7 separate regions of the Homo sapiens genome follow, and regions 2, 3, 4, 5, 6 and 7 are each linked to region 1. The links are contacts of gene promoters, found by promoter capture Hi-C in human tissues and cell types (Jung and others, 2019). All regions are on one chromosome and are shown on one strand. The core of a region is centred on a gene start or on the middle of the fragment in contact, and the rest is flanking DNA. Distances in the headings are between cores, read along the strand shown. Region 1 holds the start of HS3ST1 (heparan sulfate-glucosamine 3-sulfotransferase 1). Region 2 overlaps CLNK (cytokine dependent hematopoietic cell linker). Region 3 overlaps LINC02498 (long intergenic non-protein coding RNA 2498). Region 4 overlaps LINC02498 (long intergenic non-protein coding RNA 2498). Region 5 has its middle 83 kb from the start of LINC02498. Region 6 has its middle 110 kb from the start of LINC02498. Region 7 has its middle 180 kb from the start of MIR12113.

What was found. The method cuts DNA at HindIII sites, captures the fragments that hold promoters and counts their contacts. A contact is called where the count stands out against the background at its distance.
Region 2: a fragment that was not itself captured here is called in contact with the fragment with the promoter of HS3ST1 in region 1 in 4 of the 25 tissues and cell types used here (H1 embryonic stem cells, IMR-90 fibroblasts, lymphoblastoid cells and 1 more).
Region 3: a fragment that was not itself captured here is called in contact with the fragment with the promoter of HS3ST1 in region 1 in 3 of the 25 tissues and cell types used here (heart right ventricle, hippocampus and lymphoblastoid cells).
Region 4: a fragment that was not itself captured here is called in contact with the fragment with the promoter of HS3ST1 in region 1 in 2 of the 25 tissues and cell types used here (mesendoderm cells and thymus).
Region 5: a contact is called between a fragment that was not itself captured here and the fragment with the promoter of HS3ST1 in region 1, in 5 of the 25 tissues and cell types used here (IMR-90 fibroblasts, bladder, mesendoderm cells and 2 more).
Region 6: a fragment that was not itself captured here is called in contact with the fragment with the promoter of HS3ST1 in region 1 in 4 of the 25 tissues and cell types used here (H1 embryonic stem cells, adrenal gland, mesendoderm cells and 1 more).
Region 7: a fragment that was not itself captured here is called in contact with the fragment with the promoter of HS3ST1 in region 1 in 1 of the 25 tissues and cell types used here (mesendoderm cells).

What each region holds. Positions count from the first base shown.
Region 1 is chr4:11,427,240-11,430,554 of GRCh38, forward strand. It overlaps HS3ST1 (heparan sulfate-glucosamine 3-sulfotransferase 1), which reads right to left and starts at 1,655. Exons shown (of 2, transcript NM_005114.4): 1 at 1,460-1,655. RefSeq lists an enhancer at 1,311-1,530 and a silencer at 1,621-1,800. The HindIII fragment of the contact is 7,575 bases long and covers 1-3,315 here.
Region 2 is chr4:10,532,562-10,535,876 of GRCh38, forward strand. The region is part of intron 11 of CLNK (cytokine dependent hematopoietic cell linker); the gene reads right to left. Among named protein-coding and RNA genes, the nearest start is that of ZNF518B, 77 kb to the left of the region's middle. The HindIII fragment of the contact is 4,000 bases long and covers 1-3,315 here.
Region 3 is chr4:10,771,145-10,774,459 of GRCh38, forward strand. All of the region lies in intron 3 of LINC02498 (long intergenic non-protein coding RNA 2498), which reads left to right. Among named protein-coding and RNA genes, the nearest start is that of LINC02498, 35 kb to the left of the region's middle. The HindIII fragment of the contact is 5,223 bases long and covers 1-3,315 here.
Region 4 is chr4:10,798,909-10,802,223 of GRCh38, forward strand. The region is part of intron 3 of LINC02498 (long intergenic non-protein coding RNA 2498); the gene reads left to right. Among named protein-coding and RNA genes, the nearest start is that of LINC02498, 63 kb to the left of the region's middle. The HindIII fragment of the contact is 5,781 bases long and covers 1-3,315 here.
Region 5 is chr4:10,819,291-10,822,605 of GRCh38, forward strand. No RefSeq gene overlaps it. Among named protein-coding and RNA genes, the nearest start is that of LINC02498, 83 kb to the left of the region's middle. The HindIII fragment of the contact is 5,436 bases long and covers 1-3,315 here.
Region 6 is chr4:10,845,344-10,848,658 of GRCh38, forward strand. No RefSeq gene overlaps it. Among named protein-coding and RNA genes, the nearest start is that of LINC02498, 110 kb to the left of the region's middle. The HindIII fragment of the contact is 3,496 bases long and covers 1-3,271 here.
Region 7 is chr4:11,962,557-11,965,871 of GRCh38, forward strand. No RefSeq gene overlaps it. Among named protein-coding and RNA genes, the nearest start is that of MIR12113, 180 kb to the left of the region's middle. The HindIII fragment of the contact is 3,517 bases long and covers 85-3,315 here.

The sequences.
Region 1 (3,315 bases), core at 405-2,904:
GCCTCAGCAGTGTCCAAGCACCCAGCGCCTGAAAGCGGGAGCGTGGGGACTCGTCTGGGGACCCTCTTCCGGGGCTACTGGCGGGAGGCGCAGCCGAGCTGGTGGTGGCGGGGTTTCCCTCCGGGGCTAGGGCTGAGGGAGGAGAAGAGGGCGGACTGGCTCCTTCCGTTCTCGGCCACCCTCCCCGCCACTCCTTGAGGCTGCTCCATGCTAACAGGAGACTGTTTCTCGGAGCGCAGCGCAAAGACAGTGGATTTGGAGTGGCCTCCCTAGAATCCCCCCAAAAGCATCTTGGCACAAGTTGTAGATAAAAATAGCTCATGATAACATTGTGGGAAAGGGAGGAGCGAGACTCGCGCAAGGCGAGGCAAGGGTACCACTGGATCTGCAAAGGAGGAGGAAGAGGGAGGATGCAACCCTTGGCCCAAGAGAGCGCCCTGAGTGTGCGAGGAATCGCTGGCTCCCAGGGGAGGGAAAGAGATGGAAGACCTATAGCGCCTATAACTGCAGAGTTATAGACCTATAACTGCAGAGCCCAGCACACCCCATCCCGCGCCGGCACCCGGCTTTGGCTCCAGCTTCTTCTTCCCATCATCCGCCTACGTTCTGGGTCTGTCCTCCGCTTCCTGGGACAGGCTGGGGCTAGAAGGAGGAGCAGCGCGCCGTCCGCCCCCTGGCTGGTAGAGCGCACCTGGAGAGGTCAAGCTCCGCGAATAAGACCCTTCCTGGGAGCTGGGGTCTAGGCGTTCCAACCGCGGGTTCGCACCCCGCCATCCCTCACCTCCATCCGCTGCCACTACCCAAGGGCCCGGAAATAGAAAACCACGAAGGGGGAAAAAAATCAGTAAAAAGTAACAAGAAAAAAATCAAGACCCTCATGTAATTGGCATTAGGGATGAGAGGTTTATTGTCAGGGCTGTCACCTCAATCTCTCTCTTTGGGAGATGCCTATCTCCAACCAAATGCAAAGGCAAACCCGACCAAGGCTTCTCCACCCCCAAAGGCTCCCTCAGCCGAGTTACTTTTGCGGGCTGTGTCCTCGCCCCAGTTTCTGGCCCCAGGTGGTACCCAGGATCCGTTGAGTGCTGCGCTCTCGCTGCCCTACAGGGTCCTATGGTGAAGCTGCGGTCGCGAAGCGGCCGGCAGGAGCGAACCTCACGACTCTGCAGGGGGGGAAAACATCCAACCCAGTAAGAGTCAGAAATCTGGGTCCCTGTCCTTACAGATCAACCGGTCCCTCGGGACTTCCAGAGCAGAGGTGCTAGGGCAGGAGGTGAGGAGGATGGGAAAATCCCCAGCCTTTGCTTCCTGGTTCCCTCTGCATCCACTCCACCTGCTCCAGCCTCGATTCTTCTTAGGTTCTGCACTTGCCCGAAGTCCAGAACGCCAGACAAAGGCACCTCGGAGCCCTCTACACCTGCGTCCTGCCACTCTCCCACCCCGCGCGCGCCGCACTCACCTGAGCCGCGCCTCTGTCCAGCCCGTCCGGCGCCCTAAATAGGCTCCTAGGCTGGGCCATGGGCAGCACTGCCGAGCACCCGCGGCGGGTAGAGCAAGTTTCTGGATGGCCCGGGGCAGGCGGGCGGGGAGAAGGCGCAGGCACCCACTGAGACCCGGCTGTCGTGGCGGCGACTCCTGGCTGCCAGGGCGCAGAGGACCTTGCAGGCGGGCGTTTTGGTGCTCAATCCCGAGGAGGGGGAGGAGCGGGAGGAGGAGCGGGAGCAAAAGGAGGGGACGGAGGAGGCCGGGCCCGGAGGGAGAGCGCGTTGGGCAGAGGAGGATCGCGAGCGCCCACTGCTGCCCGGCCCGCTCGGGTGCCGCCCAGAGTCCGGCCCGCTAGGTGCCTGGTGCTCCGCTCTGCGCTCAGCTGCTCCGCACAGCCCCGCCTGGCACGCAGCTCCAGCGGCTGGTCGGGTAGTAGTCGGTCCCGCCCACCCGGTGCGGTGGCCCCTGGGGTTTCAGTCCAAGGGGAGGGACCAGCGCTCCAAGAAGGTGAGGCTGCTGGGATGGGTGACTCCGCCGTCACTGCAAACACGGGACGTCCCGTCTACTCCCTTACGCCTGCTTGGTCTGAGCCCGAGTCTACCTCTTCTCTAAGTCGCCAGCTCGGCACTTGTACCCGGGACCTGTGCTCCTCCCACGTGAGTCTGCACCATGCGTATTCCCTTCCTGGCAGGTGACCCACCTTAGGCGCTGGCGCTCCTTCCGCCCCCCGGGAAGCAGGAGGTGCCATCCTCTCCAATTCGCTCTGCAGCCGGACTGGGACCGGAGCGGCGGCCTGGGCCAGAATCCGCGTGAGGAGCCGGCTTCAAAGAGCGCCCTGTCGCCATTGAACACTCCTTTTCCTTTGGTTTAGCGTCGGAGAGCGGACGCCAATTTGCCAGGAGAGCGCGGAAAATTCAGCTTTTTTTTTTTTTTTTTTTTTTTTTTTTTTCCGCTAGTGCACTAGGATTGCAAACGTCAGCTCTGAAATAAAAAGCAGGATATTTCTGCCCCGCTCCTCTATTCCGGAAGCTGGGAGGTTCTGTGGGAGAAAGGACCTGCACCCAATAACTCAATTTAAGATTTAAGGTTTTGAGGGGCGTGGGGTTGGAATCGCCTTGGAGAAACGGGTTTGCCTGCTTACCTGAGCCAAAGGAAGTTGCCCTCAAAGGCAGGTCAGCAATCATACCCCGCCAAAAGCAAATGCACATCAAAGTAACTTCCTTTAAATGAGATTACTGTAGTTTCCATGTCTTCCACATTAGTAAATAAATATTTGGAAGACTTCGAATTTGTGATTTACGTTTAAATATATTTCACCAACATTGTTTAATTAAAAAAAAATCCCATCTAAGAGAAGGTTCCTATAGGAAATTGGCCCTTTAACTCATACACAGATTACCCTCGGCACTTTCAGAAAACAACACAGTGACCAGTATATTCTGTCTTTTTGATACAGCCAGAAGCACCCTGAAAGCTGAGACCTAACTGTGCTTTTGGAAAATAAGCTTTTAGGAGTTGAATGACCTTGTCTACTTCTTTTAGTCAGAATAATGTTGGCATGTCTATTTTAGGTTAAAAAAAAATACAAATTCTAAAAAGTGACTTTAAAGGCCCACTTTGAAAGCCTTAGCATTTAAACTAACATTAGATTTAAAAGAAGGGCTTTTCTCCCCCATTATAGGAAGCTGTGTAAAATCATGTGTGAGGTTGTGAGGGTCAAATGGAAGTCTAAGATAAAGTTCTGCCAATTACTGGTGTCTTTAAGCTTCCACCAGCAGCCAAGCACAGTGCAGATCATGAGTCCTTCAAAATACGGGGTGGTTTTAATGC
Region 2 (3,315 bases), core at 368-2,867, 890 kb before region 1:
ATTTCTCCTGACATTTGATTTCCTACGTCAAGTTTCATTGGCACAGTCAGACCTATTATTAACTTGGTTTTAAAGCTCTTAGTTTTTCACTTTGAGGGAACATAAAGAGTTTTCAATATGAAGCTGTCAGGTGCAGTGGGGTCTCAGGAAAGCAAGTGTAAGAGAGAATGCTGATAAAGAACGAAGATCTGAGACAGGAGAAAAACATAAAATTGAATGGTAGAGAAAAAATCCAACATGGAATTGAATAATATGAATTTTGGAAAGGTCTCTGACTAAACTTCAAGCTTTTCATTTTATCAGCAAGTCAATTAACTTCTCTAAACCTCACTTTTTTTCATCTGCAAAATGGCAACAAGAGTGCTCATGAGTGTTAATGTGAGAATTGCTAGAAATAAAAAGTAACAAAGTTGGGGCCTGGTGCAGTGGCTCATGCCTGTGATCCCAGCACTTTGGGAGGCTGAGGCAGGCTGATCACTTGAGCTCAGGAGTTCCAGACCAGCCTGGCCAACATGGTGAAACCCTGTCTCTACTAAAAATACAAAGATTAGCCGGGTGTGATGACACATGCCTGTAGTCCCAGCTACTCGGGAGGCTGAGGCAGGAGAGTAGCTTGAGCCCAGGAGGTGGAGAGATTGCTGTGAGCTGAGATCATCCACTGCACTCCAGCCTGGGTGACAGAGCGTGACTCCATTTCAAAACAAACAAACAAACAAACAAAAAACAATGTTGGGCATTCAGTGTGCATCGTTGTCAGAATGTGGTCAAAGTTTGGTGAAGAAACTATGAAGGGAGTGGAGTGAGGGTATATGTTCCACTTCCCCAGTTCTGTCAGTGAAAACACTGGATCTGAAGAATATGGGAGTATTAAGTGTGCAACACTGATCACAGTTGAAGGCTATTGATCTAGAGTTTTAGGAGTCAGGCTATATCAGGATTCCAGAAACACACAGTACTCAGATGCTAGATCCCAGTGTCGGATCTGCAAGCAACAGGCAACTGTACCAAGGTTCCACGGTTTTAGCCTCTTACATCTTACCCCCTGCCTCCCGCTTTTAGTTGGAAACCTGAGAAGACAAAAGAGATCTGAATAGAGGTAATGAAGTAGAACAAACACCCAGAGTATTAATTATTTTGGGGTTAAAATGTGGCTAATCTCAGTATTTAATGTTTAAGAAGCCAGTGTATTAAAGATACTGAAAGATTGGCTGTAGGGCTTCAATTTAAAATGTAGATTTGAAGTTACAAGTGTCAAGATGTGTTTGTCTCCATTTTAAAGAGTTTGAAGTGTTTAAGATAAATTAAAATTTTCTATATTTATACATTTACTTTCTTGGATTTACAGAAATTGTTAAAGTTTTGCTGGCTAGCATTTAAACCTACCCTGTCAACATTAGAAGTACTTAAAAATCAAAGAAATTAAATTTATAAATATATTTCAAATATTTAAGGAGATTTAAATGAGTTTGTTAAACAGTTTTACTAAGATTCTTTAACCTATTTGACTTGAGTTGGTTGAACATTTGTTGAAGACTAAGCAGAGTGATTGTCTTTCTGTTTGGATAAAATCACCTGATTTATAAATAGAGCAGTGCACTTTATAGATGGAAATCTGAGGCTTCAGGAAAGCTCGGGTTTGGAATTTGCAGCTTTAATCAATGGAATTTTCACTGAGAACCCAAGTGATTGTAAGAAGGCATTTCTGTGTAGACCAGAGTTTCTTACTCTTTGAGAGCTTTGAACACATGTGTGTCCAAGTTCTGTCTGCTGAAGATGGCGAAAAAAACCATGGTCATTAATTTTTTTCACATTTTTTCCTATGCATAAGAGGTCCTCATTATAAATGTAAAGATATTACCTTTTACTATAAATATAGGTCTCTCCAGGAATGCCTTAGTTTTTGGCTTAGTTTTAAATGAATTGAATTTGATTCTTGCTCTGTCATCTGTGGGCTCTGTCACCCTGGATAAGTTAAATTCTCTCTCTGAAGCTTAGTTTTCCCACCTGTAAAACTGATAAATCTAGACAGTAGTGAAGAGAATTGCTGAAGATTCTAATGAAAGAATGTGACGTGAAAGCTATTTGGAGTGAAATAACACTCTACATTTGCAGAACATTTTAATGTTCACATTTGCTTTGAAATTAAACTTTTTATCCTGAGATAAAATTATGGATTTTTTATCCTTAGATAGAATTATGGATTCCCATGCAGTTGTAAGAAATAATACAGACAGTTCCTATGTGCCCTATACCCAGTTTCCCCCAATAGCAACAACTTGGAAAACAATAATAATGATGTTTATACTTTAAAATCAATACTTTCCATTCATAAATACAAATGTGTATATCTCTATAACCATACTTTCTCTTTTAAAAGACCACGGTTTCTCGATATCTATAAAGACTTTTTGTTTTCACTTCCCAAATCATCAGAGCATACATTTTTGCGACAGAGATTGTTTGAATTGATGTGATGCCAGCATTGCTGGTTGTAAAGAGAAAACTGGCTGGCCGTGTTGCTTCACACCTGTAAATCCAGCACTTTGAGAGGATAAGGCGGGCGGACTGCCTGAGGCCAGGAGTTTGAGACCAGCCTGGACAGGAGTGTTAGAGAGACCCCTGTCTCTACTTAAAAAAAAGAAAGAAAGAAAGAGAAAGAAAGAAAGAAAGAAAGAAAGAAAGAAAGAAAGAAAGAAAGAAAGAAAAAATGGAAAGCCATAGTTAGGCAAGTGGGTGTTTTGTTTCTTAAATATTGGGTGCTTCATTTAAATTATATTTTGGCTGAACCCTGCACCTTTGGCCATTGAGTGTACTGAAGCTTAAAGGACATATGGGACAATGAACCCTCGATTTCTTAATTTTTATCAGTAAATTGGAGATAGTAATTTTTTTACAGTGCTGTTGTGTGACTAAATGAATTAATACATATAAGATCCCAAACCGGGCCTGGTGTGTAGTTACGACTCAGAAAATGTTGTTGATTACTCTTGCTGTTACTCAGGATGATTTTATTTGGTGCATGGACCACGGTATTAAAATTACAATGGATTCGTAGTAGAAAAGTTATTCCCTTTTTAATTGTCTTTCAGATTATGTCAAAGAGAAAGGCTCAGTGCAGTGGTTAGTAGATATGAAACACTGTTCTAATATTTGCTTACCTTCCCTTTTATCAGAGGTAAAATTCCCCAGAGCTCAAAGTTTTGTTTTGAAGCTATCTGTATTGAAGTTATTTATAATAATTATATGTCTTTCTTTTAAGTAAATTTATTTAAGTTGAAAAAAATGAGCAGAGCAGAAAAAATAATTAAGTACATG
Region 3 (3,315 bases), core at 232-2,731, 660 kb before region 1:
TAGCTCTTACCCAAAACATGGATGATGGTGACATTTCTTTGTGGATAGAGCAAAAGATCCAGAAAAGGGGTCCAAGAGGAAGACTAGAAGGGAGGAAAAGAACTGTAAGGTGGCCTTCAAAAATGTATGAACATATCCTAATCTCTAGAACCTGTGAACGTGACCTTATTGGGAAAAAGGAGCTTTTCAGATAAAATTAAAAATCTCAACATTCTCAAGGTAAGGTCATCTGGATTATTCAGGTGAGCACTAAAGCCAATGGCAAATGCTTTTTATAAGAGATAAAAGAGGAGAGATGGACAGACAAACAGGAGAAGATGATGTGAAGACAGAGGCAGTGATTGAAGTGATGTAACCATAGTTAAGGAACGCCAGGTCTGGTGGCTCATGCCTGTAATCCCAGCACTTTGGGAGGCCAAGGCAGACGGATCATCGGAGGTCAGGAGTTCGAGACCAGCCTGGCCAATGTGGTGGAACCCCATCGCTACTAAAAATACAAAATTAGCTAGGCATGGTGGTGGGTGCCTGTAATCCCAGCTACTCAGGAGACTGAGGCAGGAGAATTGCTTGAACCCGGGAGGCAGAGGTTGCAGTGAGCCAAGATTCCACCATTGCACTCCACCCTGGGCGACAAGAGCAAAACTTTGTCTTCAGAAAAAAAAAAAAAAGAAACCAAACCAAACCAAAACAAAAATACCCCAACAAACACCAATAGTACCAGAAGCTGGAAGAAGCAAGAAACAGAGTCTTCTTTAGAGCCTTTGGAGACCCTTAAGTGAGGCCCTGCAACACCTTAATCTTAGACTTCTGACCTCTGGAGCTGTGACAGAATACATTTTTTGTTGTTGTTGGAATTCATCCAGTTTGTGGTAATTTTTAAGGCAGCCCTAGATATCAAATATAAGAATGAAGAGACAGGGCAAAGGACAGGCACCAAGGTGAGGCAGGGAAGCACACAGGACAGAATGTTTAATGAGGCACTCACTCTTGGGTTCATACAGGCACAAGGTCAGCCCTGCATGAACCCAAGAGTCGGCCCCAGGCACCTAGCTTGCCTCACTCCAGCTGTAACCTGGAAGAGCAGGTTTTAGAACAGAAAAACTGAAGCCAGCAAGACCAACAGAGAAAAGATATTTCAAGAAAAGAGAGATCAGTGGTGTCAAATATTAGAAAGACCAACAGACCACCACTAAGAAGTGAAGACAATGTGCACAAAAGGACCCGGACATAGTGCATGTTTAGTAGACATCTCTTTGAATTTTTATCTTTTTCTCCTTGACTTCCTTTGATGCCCATGCCTACTGCCTGATTATCAGAGAAGAAGGAAAACCAGCAATAATCAAGTGTCCAACTCTTAAACATGCTGTACTTCACTTCAATTCTGAAAGTAACTTCTGAGCTAGGAGACATAATTCTCTTTTCCTAGGTTAAAAACAGAGGTTCAGGGATAACCAGTGACTTTTCAGTGTCTTAAAATGAGGACTAAAACCCAGAGTTTTGTGACTCCAGCCCAGCCACACCACAATGGCTGAGTTTGTTGGTCAGCCCTTGACTCGTCCATAAGCTTTGAATTCCTGCTTTCTTCTAAGTACCTACTAATGTGCTCTTCATTATCTTGGGATCTGAGAAAGATTTATGCCTTCAGTTGGATCATGGTCTAGTAAAGAGGGAAAAGCTAGAATAAACAATTGATTATAAAGAAAGGAAGAATTAGGTGAGTAATAAGTGGAACAACAGGCAATAATGAGGGAACACTCAATACCCACAACCTTGAATCTTGGTAAATAAGAACACACAACACAAAATCAATATGGGAGATGCCCTCACTTCTACATGAATTCATTCAGTCTGAGGCTACTTCTACCTCTGTTGGACCAAGACACTTTCTTATAGCTCTTTTTCTGTTGATCTTCAGAGTTTAAAATACCTCCAGAGCAAGCTGGGAAATAACTTTCCATTTTTCCAATGTTTGCTTTTCAGTGTTTTGAATGAATCTTCTCTGCAAACTGCTAAGCTAATTGAACCACTACCATTTCAGCTGAAAAAACATCCTGTCTTGCCAAAGCACATTTGCTTGTGTACTCAGTGTTACCAACGAAGGGGCCAGAGCTGGGGGAAATAGTCGTTTATAGCCTGAAGACCAGGTGCAGAATGAAAAGTGTTTTGTTTTGATCTGCTCTGTTTTGGGAAGGATGGGTGCTGACATTTAAAGGGCTCATTTCACGTTCTTAATAGACATTGTTTTTTGGGGTTCAGAAATGCAAAGAATGAGTAGCTCAAAGAGGTCAATGGCTTGCCCAAGAATATAGACAGAGGGTGGTTCAGAGTCCCCATGCCGTTGTCCTGTCCCAGCAATGACACACTGACTCAGGTCATAGGCCAGCCCTTGAAACACTAGAGAAACGTAATCTCCTCCCTGATATTGGATTTGATTCAATTAAAGGGCTGGGATTTAAACTCACTTCTATATTGCTCCTGTGCCCTTATTTGATTATGTCTTGTGTTTCAAGTATGTTCTTCAGCCTCTCATGAGGGTGGGGCTGTTACCAAAAAATGCTTTTAAAAATATTTTCAAAAGGAGCATTAAAACTCTCCATGAATCAGATTTATTTGAACAAAGTATCATCTACTCTTAAAAAAATCTAACTCATTCTCTTGACAGATTTATAAGACTGGGTTATTTCATCATAGAACCAGAAACTGTATGTGTGATGACGTACAAGAAATGTGCCAATGAATAGTCAGATTTCTCCTCTCCAAGTTCAAAATGTAACTTAGGGACATAGGGAGGAAAAGCATCCACTGATGTTGCAAGGTGACTAGGGATAAATTGACGTGAAAGTCACCTTCAGAGAGAAGAGACACTGACACTTGGGAAACTTCATTAAAATTCTTAAAAAGGGAGAAATTGGATGCTGAACTGGAACTCACTTTGAATGAAGTACTTTTTAGTTTTCTTAATTAAAATTGTGTTCAGCTCAGGGCTGAACTTCTTAACAATTGAAACTTACCTAGGTTTGGGCAAACTTCATCTGATATTGTGATGTTACATAGACTGTTCAATAAATGGGTAGGTTTCCAGATATGAGTCACTGACTGCGAAATATCTGTGTCCCCACACTCAGCACCCAGCTTGGTATCTGGCATATAGAACATATTTAATAAAACTTATGACACAGAAGACAGGGTATATCTAAGTGACTGGGTACCTTAATACTTCACGAGTTTTGCCTTACATTTTTCCAAAGTCAGAAAACAGTCTTCTAAGGCCATAAAGGGGTATGCTGATATTTTTCTGCATTAGTGCATGGGAAA
Region 4 (3,315 bases), core at 315-2,814, 630 kb before region 1:
GGGGATTGCATCCCTTCTCTCCTGACTCTTCCCTTGGAGTGGGCTACCTACATGCTCAGTGGCCTGCCAGCCCTTGAGAGGGGCTGCATGTGTATTGTGTTTACTGGAATTGTACATATGCTCATTTGAGGCATTCTTCCCTTACCAGTTCTAATGTTCCTAGAAGGTCATATAGCAGTTAAACTCCACCATTTTACCTCTTAGTGCACATGCATGAGCCCACTCGTCCAAGTTCTGAGATCTTATCAGGAAGATGCTGATCACCAGTTTCAGATGTTTCTGTCTACTGGGGGTCTGCCTTTCCCTGGCTCTGACTGTGACCAATTATTATTTTAGAGAAACAGTGTAACAACGACCTGAACATCACCTAATAGTCACCTGACATTCCTGGTTGGGGGTGTGGGAACTTTTCTGCCCTGCTCATGACTGACTAGCTACCTACTTAACAATATCTCCGTTTCCAAAATGGAAGTTGTATTTGCAAGGAGGTTTTAAATCATTTTAGGCATGTATTCTTCAGCTATTTCCGTAACAAACTCAATTATTGTAAACTCAGTGGTTTCCTTCATTAAGCAATTATTCTCACTCTCACTGCCTGCAGGGAAACTGTGGTTCATCCAGACTAGACTAGGCTTGGATGGGTAGCTCCCTGGCCATGGATTAGCTGGATTTGGCCATGGGCTCTCAGTCTGCTCAATGCTGAGGGACAGTGATAATACCGCTATCATGAGATATGCCTATATTAGTCCATTCTCACACTGCTAATAAAGACATACCCGAGACTGGGTAATTTAAAAAGGAAAGTGGTTTAATTGACCACAGTTCAGCATGGCTGAGGAGGTCTCAGGAAATTTACAATCATGGTAGAAGGCGAAGGGGAAGCAAGGTACCGACTTCACAAGGCAGCAGGAAGGAGAAGTGCAAGCCGGGGAAATGCCAGATGCTTATAAAACCATCAGATCTTGTGAGACTCACTCATTATCACAAGAACAGCATGGGGGAAACCTCTCCCATTATTCAATTACCTCCACCTGGTCCCACCCTTGACACGTGGGGATTATGTGTATTACAATTCAAGGTGAGATTTGGGTGGGGACACAGAGCTACTATATCAATGCCCAATCTCCAACATACAAGAGAAAAGCCAGACTACACAAGGCTATGAAAAGTTCCGGCTCACATCATGCCTGCCAAATTCCCAGTGGCCAAAGCAAGTCACACGTCCAAGACCAACATCAAAGGGCAAAGACTTAGTCTCTGCCTATAGTAAGGAGGAAACAGGAGTAAAATGCTGAAGAATAATCTAGAATAGCAGAAGCTATTTAAAAAATATTTTCAGATATTAAAAAGTTCAGTCCAATTTTAATCGAAACTCCAATGTGTCATACAATTTTAAGTTTTTCTTCTTCCTTACCTTAGGCCTGAACTGGCTCTGAAGCCAGAAGAGAGAAAGGGAGAGTGCAGCCTGTTCTTTCTGTTGGGCTTACTCATTTCAGTAGTCCATTGAGCTGCTCACAAACATTCCAGTTCTCCTTCCTAGACAGAGAAGATAAGATGACTTTGACAGCTACTTAAAGTTAATTATAGCCATGTGACTTACTTTAGCCAATAAAGTGTGTAACTTCTAGGTGGGAGCTATAATAATAAGTTTATGCTTTGCTACATTCTCATTTTCTATTCCAGTATTCAAAATTGTAGTGCCTGATCAGCCTGGGTTTTTGTGGTGTAATTAGCAGAGCTCCTGGGATAGACATAAGTGAGAAAGAAGTCTTTGTTCTCGGTTATTGTACTGAGAACTAAGCTAAGGAGGTGTGTGTGTGTGTGTGTGTGTGTGTGTGTGTGTGTGTGTGAGAGAGAGAGAGAGAGAGACAGAGAGAGAGAGAAAGAGAGAGAGATATCCGCACATCATCACCTCTTCTCTTATCCTTATTGATTTTTCTTTCACTCTCTCTGTGTTGGGTCATCTTTTTCCGGCTTCTCTACCATGTGTGAGGGTAAACAAGGAAAAACATGGTACAGTTTTAGGTAGCCAGCACAGTTGTAGTTCCTACCCTCCACACACACCTGTTAAATACCCTTAGTACTGACCCTTCCCTTCTGTGTGTTTTAGGGGTTTGTTACCTCACAATGTCTGGGATTCCTCATTCTTCAGTATTTCCTGAGAAGGACTATGCTTAATCCTACTGATGTCTTATGACTTTGCCTCAATTCCTACTTCTGGTGGGATGCCTCTAGCCACTTTCTGCTGGTATCTGCTTTCTCCTGCAGATAGGCCTCTTGAAAATAGATCTTTTTTTGACCACCCTAGTCTGGGTGCTGCTCTCAGCACCCTGAGGCACACAGAAAGCCTTCCCCTTGCCATGCTGGTGAGGCAGTTCCCAGTGCAGCTCTCTTTTCTCTGCTGCTGCTGGGCCAGTTCCAGCCAGCCTGTCCCCTACAGGCAAGTAGCCAGTACCATTCCCTTCAAGTCTTCAAGGCACAAGTCAATTTATCAGAAATCTCTCTCAGTGTGCCCTGTCGAGCCACATGTAAGAACTGGGACATAGACTTCCTTCACATTCTTCCTCCCATCCTCACAGGGAGAGGAGAAAAATGCCTTTCCCCATCCTTCTAGACTGACTACTTTCTTGAAAAACTTACCAGTCAATCTGCTTAATGAATGTATTAGTCCATTTTCATGCTGCTATAAAGAATTGACTGAGACTAGGTAATTTATAAAGGAAAAAGGTTAAATTGACTGACAATTCAGCATGACTGGGAAGGCCTCAGGAAACTCACAATCATGGTGGAAGGCAAAGGGCATCTTCTTCACAAAGTGGCAGGAAGGAGAAGTACTGAGCGAAGGTGGAAGAACCCCTTATAAAACCATCAGATCTCTTGAGAATTCACTCACTATCATGAGAACAGCATGAGGGAAACTGCCCCCATAATTCAATGACTTCCACCTGATGTCTCCCTGGGATTATGGAGAGTACAATTCAAGATGAGATTTGGGTGGGGACATAAAACCTAACTATATCAATGAATCTCCAGTTTTGCTGGTAGACATAGAGGTTGGTGGAGAGTTTTGGGCTAAAGGTCTCAGGACTTGCTTTGCCTATCTCTTAGCAAGTCTAGCAGAAATGGACTTAGTCCTTTTCTGTAAAATACAGGTGCAATTTATCCCCATTGTCCCAAACCTGGGACATTTTGGGATCTCAGTGGAGACTAAGAAGACAAATATATTCTAATTTTTTTACAAGTTTAAGAGATTACCACATATTCTAGGAGAAGTGAGTAGTTTGGTGCGACCAGAATAAATGTTTTTCTGTGCTA
Region 5 (3,315 bases), core at 406-2,905, 610 kb before region 1:
GATCTTAGATAAAGTAGCTTATTTTTGCAGATGTGTTAGTCTATTCAGACAGTTATACCAAAAATCCCATAAACTGGGTAGCTTATAAACAACAGAGGTGGGATGGGTGTGGTGGCTCACACTTGTAATTCCAGCACTTTGGGAGGCTGAGGTGGTCGGATCACTTGAGGTCAGGAGTTCAAGACCAGCCTGGCCAACATGGTGAAACCCTGTCTCTATTAAAAACACAAAAACTAGCCAGGCATGGTAGTGGGCACCTGTAATCTCAGCTACTCAGGAGACTGAAGCAGGAGAATTGCTTGAATCCAGGAGGTGGAGGTTGCAGTGAGCAAAAATGGCGCCACTGCATTCCAGCCTGGGTGACAGAAGGAGAATCCGTCTCAAAAAAATAAAAAAAAAGGAAATAAATAAATAAATACACAACAGAAGTGTATTACTCATAGTTTTGGAGGCTATAAAGCCTGTGATCAAGGTGCTAGCAGATTCAGTGTCTGGTGAGGGCTTGTTTCTCATAGACAGTAACTTCTAGTTGTGTCCTCACATGGTGGGAAAAGCAAGGCCGCTCTCAGCGGCCTCTTTTATAACGGCATTAACCCTGAACAAGAGGGCTCCACCCTCAAGACCTAATCACCTTCATACCATCATTTTAGGGGCTAGGATTTTAACACATGAGTATTGAAAGGACACAAATATTCAGACGACAGTAGCATGCAAGTAAATTTTCTATACTGAATCTCAGGGTTAGATATACTGTACTTCTCTTCCAAAATCTCCACATTGGGGAAGCCTTCCCTGCTTGATCTCTCAACTACAGGCCCAGAAAATACCATGTACTCCAAAGCAGAAAGTCTGCTGAATTTGAACTCTCTACTATCAAGAGATATGGAGAAGAAAGAAGCGAAGTTACACAGAGTTGCTCAGTTTTATTTTCCAAAATTCCCAACCATCTTAATCATTTGTCTCATAGAAACAAATAATTGAGAGGCAGAGAGAGGTGTGTTATGCAAATGGAGCTTTCCCTACATAAAAAGAAACATCATAAATGGGGAAAAATGTTCACCCCCAATACACATTTGAGAGTGTACTCATTTCTCCACAAACTTGCCAATAGTGGGCAGGGTTCAACTTAAATTACTTTTTCCTATTTTGTGATGTAAAAAATTATATATCTATATTACATTATGTATCTTTACATATAATTACATATGTTTATGTTATATATCTTATATTTATTTTATATATTTATTATTACTTATATTGCTATTACTGTTATATCTTTATTATTTTTATTTTAATATTATTACAGAGATGAATTAGTATCTTTGTGTGCTAATTTCTCATTTTTTCCTTTTGTATAAAATGTTTGGTCATATCATTTACCCACTTTCCTTTAGCGTTTTCTTGTGTCTCTCTTTCTTATTGATTTGTAGAAGTTCTTTATATAGTTTGTAAACTAATGCTTTCTCTATTATGTAGCTTGAAGACTTTTTTTTCAGTTAAGTATTTGCCTGTCACTTTAAAAAATCATACCTTAGTTTTAACATTTTTGTCTCAAATTATCAAAATTTCTATTTATGGATCCTGCTTTTAGTGTTTTAAAGAGGAAGATCTTCTATTCCAAGATTTAAAATTTTTTAAAAATTTTTATGACATTATAATAGCATTTTCTTTTTCTTTTCTTTTTCTTTTCTTTTCTTTTTTTGAGATGGAGTTTCGCTCTTGTTGCTCAGGCTGGTGTGCAATGGTGCAATCTCAGCTCACTGCAACCTCTGCCTCCAGGGTTCAAGTGGTTCTCCTGCTTCGGCCTTCTGAATAGCTGGGATTACAGGTGCACGTCACCATGCCCGGCTAATTTTTGTATTTTTAGTAGAGACGGGGTTTCAACATGTTGGTCATGCTGGTCTCGAACTCCTGACCCCAGGTGATCAGCCTGCCTCGGCCTATAATAGCATTTTCTATACTTATGTACTTGCATCTGTAATTATATTTTTATGATGTAGAGGCAACTTTATTATCATTATTCTCTGATATTTATATCACTGTCACAAAACATTTATTGGATAATTTACAACTTCTTCTGCTGATTTAGACATACAGCTCTTGCTTTGTAATGAGTTCTAGATTCTCTATTCTGTTCTATTTCTCTTTTTGCCTAATTCTGAACCAATAACACATTAACACATTGTTAAGGTAATACAGGCCATCAGTTTTATTTTTTCTTTTGGTCATAATATTGTTGCAGATACTGGCTTCAATTTTCTGTAGATAATCCCATATTATGGCTGCATCTGTTTGCTTCGTGGTGGTTTCATTTAATGTATTCTTATATACCCCTGTATTTTCCGTGCATGGAAGTTGCCATTTTAAGCTTGGTTAGACTCAATTTTAATATTTTGCACAGTAACACTTCATACTATGGCTTATTTTGCATCATGCCAGGAAATACACAATGTGTTGTTGTCCCACTGTAGTCGGCACTAAAATGATCGGTGGGTTTGGGTAGAATGCTCAATTTTACCATTATATTGTCTTTTCAATAATAAGGTAACTTTTCACAAATTTTTTATGCATAGATAGTCATTACCTGAGCTAAGGATTTCAGCTGGCAATTAAAAGAAGAACTTTCTGATTTCTTCCTAATTCATGAGCTGAATTATTGTGTAAATAAGAAATTATTTTTATCTTCTAGGCATATTCGGTTTCTGTGCTCTACAGTGTGTACAGGAAATGCAAGATAGACATTATTTTCCTTCAACTGTTGATTTTCGGGGAAATAAGTTGGTAGCCCAAATGTCCAGTTACTTCCAACGGTCTCTATAAGGATCTGTCTCTTTCTCTCTATTTCTGTCTTTCTGTCTCAGTCTCCCTACCCCTTCTTTTCCTCTCTCTTATTATGAAATCTATTGGTTTTTCAATATTAAATGTGTTTCAACTGATTGCATTTATTATTCTTTTTGATGTTCAAATGGCCCTATATTTGGCCAGTGGCAGCTGCTTCATTGCCTGTTCTAGTGCTGTTTGACAAGACCTGTAACTGCCTTGATAGTACTCTTGCCTTCTGACACACTAGAGTATCTCACTCTTAATTTCTTGCCTTGATATGCATTTAACTTTACCACTCTTCTCCATGCTCATGCTTTGGGCATTTAAACAATTTAAATCTATTTGATTGGAGTGTGATTTACATAATTAGAATGCACCCAGTTAATTGAGTTTTGACAAATATGTTTACTCATCAAACAACCACTACAATCAAGGTATAGAGCATTTCTATCACCCCCCACAATTCTCCACCTCTTTCCATTCAATGCCCTC
Region 6 (3,315 bases), core at 274-2,773, 580 kb before region 1:
GGGCTGCTAAAGCATCCAGAGCATCCAAATAAATGAGTGTCCAAATAAAGCTCAGTCACCTCTGCATTTTTCTAGTATATTTAAAACCACCCTTGAATCAAGTACCTATACCCCTGTATTTTCCTTCACTGAGTATGGCAGACTCTCTATGAAATTGTCTGCATCAATATAAGAATAAGCCTTTGAAGTATCATCACTGAAGTCTCTGAGCTCTTAAGAGTGCTCATCCTAAAAACCATCCTAAAAGCAACCAGTGGTTTCTCTTCTGTCTACAATAAATGGACCAAACGCTTCTCTCCAGGATGAGTTGTTTTACTGAGATTGATTTCTCTATTGTTCAGACCTTAATTTTTAATTATAACTTTTAATTTTGAAATAGTTTGTCTCACTAGTAGTTACAAAAATGGGACAGAGTTCCTGTGTACTTTTCACCAAGCTTCTCCCAAATGCCAATATTCTAAAATACATGATACATTGTTGATACTGTCTGAATGTTGGTGCCCTCTCCCTTCCAAAACATGTGTGTATATATATATGTGTGTGTGTATACATACACACACACATATATATACACACACATATATACACACACACATATATATACACACACACATATATATACACACACTTATGCACACACACTAATACTGTTACAGTATTAAGAGGCAGGGCCTTTAGGGAAGTGATTAACTCATGAAGGATCCACCTTCATGAATGACATTAGTGGCCTTAGAAAAGAGGTTTAAGGGAGTTGCCTGGCCTCTTCCACCACGCACAGGCACAGGAGACATCATTTATGAGAAACAGGCCCTCACCAGACACTGAATCTGCTGGCACCTTGATCTTGGACTTCCCAGCCTCCAGAACTGTGAGCAATAAATTTCTATTGTTTATATTACCCATTGTAAGGTATTTGTTATAGCAGCCCAAGTTGACTAACACAATTACCCAAACCAGGAAATTGACACTGGTACAGTAATATTAACTACAAGACAAATCTTATTGAGATTCCAAAAGGATGAAATCATGTCCTGAATTTTCAGTAACATGGATGCAACTGGAAGCCATTTTCCTGTGTGAATTAATGCAGGAACAGAAAACCCAAATACCACATGTTCTCACTTATAAGTGGTAGCCCAACGTTGAGTACTCATGAAGTTAAAGACTAGAATGATAGACACTGTGCTCTACTTGAAAGTGGAGGGTGGGAGGAGGATGGGGGTTAAAAAAATATATCTATTGGGTACTATACTTACTACCTGGGTAATGAAATGATTTGTACACCAAACCCCAGTGACACAGGATTTATTCAGGTAACAAACCTGCACATGTACCCCGTGAACCTAAAAGTTGAAAAAGGAAAAGAGTATCATCTTTTTCTTTACAAAATACTTCTTTTATTAATCTCAGGATTTTCAAAACATTTATTCCAAACCTAGGGATTGTGTATTTTTTAATACAAAAAATAGGATAAAAGTCTATTTAATAAAATGGAACACGGATCCTCCTGAAACAGGAGGATCACTTGAGTCCAGGAGCTTGAGGCTGCAGTGAGCTATGACGGTGGAACTTCACCTCACCCTGGGCAAGAGAGCAACACAGGCTGTCTCTATAAACAACAATAAAATAAAATAAATCAGAAATTTTAGTACACGAATATTTCATTTTACTTAAGGTTTGGGTTTCTGCACTAAAACTAAACTAAATAGTAAAATATTTATGTAAATGATCTAACATATGGGACTTAAAATGAACTATAGCAGTTAAAATGTATTATAATTTTCAACATTCATGTCTTATGAAATGCTTCTAGGCATTGGATCCTGGTTAGCTGGAAGTTATATGCATCTGTAGAAAAGCTTGCACTTGTACTTTCTAATCATAGCTTAAGTTTGTAATAGTTGACGCTTTTTTCGATTGCTGACATTTAAAAATGTAATTGTATTTTATTTTTATATATGCTAGTCATATTGTTAATAACACATTTGAATGTTTGATTGGCTTTGTGAAGTTTGAGCGTGTCTAGCATTAAGTTAATGCCTCTGAGAAACTGAGGTCTTAAACTAGATTTTCTCCAAGTAAAACGAATATAGAAATAATATATTTTTTCAAGCCAAACCTCAAGAGCTTGTATTTCTTTCATTTCTCTTTACTAATCATATGGAATCTAAGGTACTAGGGATTTTTTTGATTCCTCAGTGGAATTTTTAATATTTTGGCTGGTACTCTCTTAAGGTACTACTTAGGATATTCTCATTGTACCAATACATATATAACCTGATATATTAAAGTGGCAAGAGAATGGTAGATGTGAAATAAGTGTGTTCCTACATTATCAGAAATTAAATCATAGGAGACAGAATTGGTTTATTCAACCAGGAAGCAAATATAGGTATCTTGTACTTAACATTGAGTACTAAGTCATTGTAGGTAGTATCAGATAATGATGAAACGAAACTATTGTGCAGAGTTTTGAAGACAGAGCTGGTCTGGTGGAGGTGTTTCTTTTCTTTTTTTTTTTTTTAACCATCCTAAGGTAGAGAAGATCCCTCTTTCATAGTATTCTGACTATCTAAGTAACCTCTGCTATCTTTGAATTTACCAGTGACAACTGTTGAAATGCCAACAGCGTCAGATTGAAAATCAGCATAAAGTCCTGAAGCAACACTATAGATCAGATAAGTACTTGCAGCCATGGAGAGTGAACAATTATAATTGATTCTAGAAAAGTGATTCTCAAAGTGTGGTCCCTGGACTAGTGGCAGCAGCATCAGGGAATTTATTTATTTATTTATTTATATTTCCAACTTTAAAGTTCAGGGGTACATGTGCAGGATGTTCAGGTTTGTTACATAGTTAAATGTGTGCCATGGTGGTTTGCTGCACAGATCATCCCATCACCCAGGTATTAAGCCCAGCATCCATTAGCTATTCTTCCTGATGCTCTCCCTCCTTCCCCCCCACACCCTCCAACAGGCCCCATTGTGTGTTGTTCCCCACTATGTGTTCATGTGTCCTCATCATTCAGCTCCCACTTATAAGTGAGAATATGCGGTATTTGGTTTTCTGTTCTTGAATTAGTTTACTGAGGATAATGGCTTCCAGCTCCATCCATCTCCCTGCAAAGACATGATCTTGTTCCTTTCTATGGCTACATCGTATTCCATGGTGTACATGTACCACATTTTCTTTATCCAGTCTACCGTGGATGGGCATTTAGATTGGTTCCATGTCTTTGCTATTGTACATAGTGCTGCAATTAACATACACATGCATGGATCTTTATAATAGGATGATTTATATTCCTTTGGGTAG
Region 7 (3,315 bases), core at 593-3,092, 540 kb after region 1:
GTTGTTCAGTTACCATGTAGTTGTGCAGTTTTGAATGAGTTTCTTAAACCTGAGTTCTAATTTGATTGTACTGTGGTCTGAGAGACTGTTTGTTATGATTTTCATCCTTTTGCATTTGCTGAGGAGTGTTTTACTTCCAATTATGTGGCAATTTTAGAATAAGTGTGCTGAGGTGCTGAGAAGAATGTATATTCTGTTTATTTGGGGTGGAGGGTTCTGTAGATGTCTATTAGGTCCACTTGGTCCAGAGCTGAGTTCAAGTCCTGGATATCCTTTTTAATTTTCTGTCTCATTGATCTATCTAATACTGACAGTGGGGTGTTGATGTCTCCCACTATTATTGTATGGGAGTCTAAGTCTCTTTGTAGGACTCTAAGAACTTGCTTAATGAATCTGGGTGCTCCTGTATTGGGTGCATATATACTTAGGGCAGTTAGCTCTTCTTGTTGCATTGTGTAATGCCCTTCTTTGTCTCTTTTGATCTTTGTTGGTTTAAAGTCTGTTTTACCAGAGACTAGAATTGCAACCCCTGATTTTTTTTGCTTTCCATTTGCTTGGTAAATATTCCTCCATCCCTTTGTTTTGAGACTATGTGTGTCTTTGCATGTGAGATGGTTCTCCCGAATACAGCACACCGATGGGTCTTGACTCTTTGAAGAACAACTCAATGAAATAAAGTGTGAAGATAAGATTAGAGAAAAAAGAGTGAAAAGAAACAAACAAAGCCTCCAAGAAATATGGGACTATGTGAAAAGACCAAATCTATCCAATTTGCCAGTCTGTGTCTTTTAATTGAGACATTTAGCACATTTACATTTAAGGTTAATATTGTAAAGTGTGAATTTGATCCTGTTATTTTGATGCTAGCTGGTTATTTTGCCCATTAGTTGATGCAGTTTCTTCATAGTGTTGATGGTCTTTACAATTTTGTATGTTTTTGTAGTGGCTGGTCCCAGTTATTCTTTTCCATGTTTAGTGCTTCCTTCAGGCATTCTTGTAAGGCAGGCCTGGTGGTGACAGAATCCCTCAGCATTTGCTTGTCTGTAAAGGATTTTGTTTCTCCTTCACTTGTGAAGCTTAGTTTGGCTGGATATGAAATCCTGGGTTGAACATTCTTTTCTTTAAGAAAGTTGAATATTAGCCCCCACTCTCTTCTGGCTTGTAGGGTTTCTGCCGAGAGAACCACTGTTAGTCTGATGGGCTTCCCTTTTTGGGTAACCTGACCTTTCTCTCTGGCTGCCCTTAACATTTTTTCCTACATTTCACCCTTGGTGAATGTGACAATTATCAGTCTTGGTGTTGCTCTTCTCGAGGAGTATCTTTGTAGTGTTCTCTGTATTTCCTGAATTTGAATGCTGGCCTACCTTGCTAGGTTGGGGAAGTTCTCCTGGATAATATCCTGAAGAGTGTTTTCCACCTTGGTTCCATTCTCCCTGTCACTTTCAGGTACACCAATCAAATGTAGATTTGGTCTTTTCACATAGTCCCATATTTGTTGGAGGCTTTGTTTGTTTCTTTTCACTCTTTTCTCTCTAATCTTATCTTCTCACTTTATTTCATTGAGTTGTTCTTCAATATCTGATACCATTTCTTCCACTTGATTGATTCGGCTATTGATACTTGTGTATACTTCACAAAGTTCTTATGCTGTGTTTTTCGGCTCCATCAGGTCATTTATGTTCTCCTGTAAACTGGTTATTCTAGTTAGCAATTCGTCTAATCTTTTTTCAAGGTTGATAACTCGAACTCATAGTTGAAGGTATTTTTCTTGGGTTTGGGGTTGGCATGGCCCACAATCAGCTACAGAGACAATGGGATCCAGGGCTCAGGTGTTCAGAGAAGCTGTGGTGCCAGTTTCCTGGTCTCAGGGTCTTGTGAAACTCCTATAACACCTGGAACATGAGGCACAGGTTCACTAACTAAGCCCAGGGTGGATGCTGTTTTTCCAGTAAGCCAAGATTTATTCCTCTGAGGCATATCCCAGTAGCTTGGGCCTAGGGAGTTATAACGTAGCTGTGGTTCTGTCCCTGGCAGGAAGGCCACAACACTGGCATTGGCTTTGAAGAAGAAGAGGTGTTTTAGAGGCTGGGGCCTCAGAGAGCAATGCACAGCTGCAATTGGAGAACAAGAACAAACAATACCACTTGGGATCCAGGGAATGAGCTACCACAAAGTTGTAAATGTGGACCCTGGAATGGTAGGACACAGTAGTATCCTTTGCTCTGCGAGCCAAGATGAAACAACTGGAAGGACCCAGAAATGTCAAGATATGGCTTGGGCCCAAGGGAAGGGGAGAAAAACAGTGATGACTCTGCTTCCCAGAAAGGCAAGGCATGTATATGGCTTGACCTCAGGGGGCTAGTCCAGTTCTGTGTAGGCATGGCACTGTGGCTGTATGCCTGGAGAGTGGAGTGGCACAGCTTAGCCTAGGCTCCAATTCTCTGAGATGTAAGGCACCTCTGCTTGGTCCAAGAAAGTGTGGCTACATAGGTAAATGAAGCCTGTAGATCCCTGGGAGCTGGGGCACATTGTCAGCAGTGGTACCAGGAAGCATGACTGCTCTAGTGTGCCAGAAACCTGGGTCACTGGGAAGCACAGTGTCACTTCAGCTTGGCCCTAAAGGCAGGGTTCACCAGAGACCAGAGAAAAAGATGGAGTAGCTCTGTAGTATCTTGGCCCTAGGGGATTAGGCATAGCAGCAGCTTGGTTCAGAGATGGCATGATACCAGGTGGGCATCTTGCATTGGTGGAAGGTCTCATAAATAGAAAGTGCAATTACCACTCGCTTCTGGAGCAGGACACACTCTAGCAGTGACTCTAGTCCAAAGATGGTGCAGTGCGGTAGTAGTACAGGCCATGGGGAGGGTGTGGGGTGCAGTGTTGACTTCTCTAGGAGTAGCTTTGTCTGTGGGCTCTGGAGAGCTCCCTTTGCTGGGCTTGGAGCCCGTGGGGACTACAGCAGTCTCCAGTGATGAAGACTGCAAGTGTCCACAGTGGCTATGGGGGCTGCTGGTATCTTCTTGCTTACCCCTTAAGGAAAAGGAGGGAGTTCCTCCTAGTTTTGGCTGATCCAGAATTGGGGAATGGAGTGGCAGAGGCAAGATGTGCTCTCCTCTAAGAAGTTGTCTTGGGTTTCTGTGCTTTACAGGATTTTTGCTGCTCCTTTGCTGTTCTAAAGTACTTACTGTTAGTTATTTTGATTAAAATGCAGCTGCTTATTCATTGTGTGTGTGTGTGTGTGTGTGTGTGTGTGTGTAGGGAAACAGTGCTAGGAGCTTTTGGTTGGCTATCTTCCTCAAAGCTAACACAATTTTG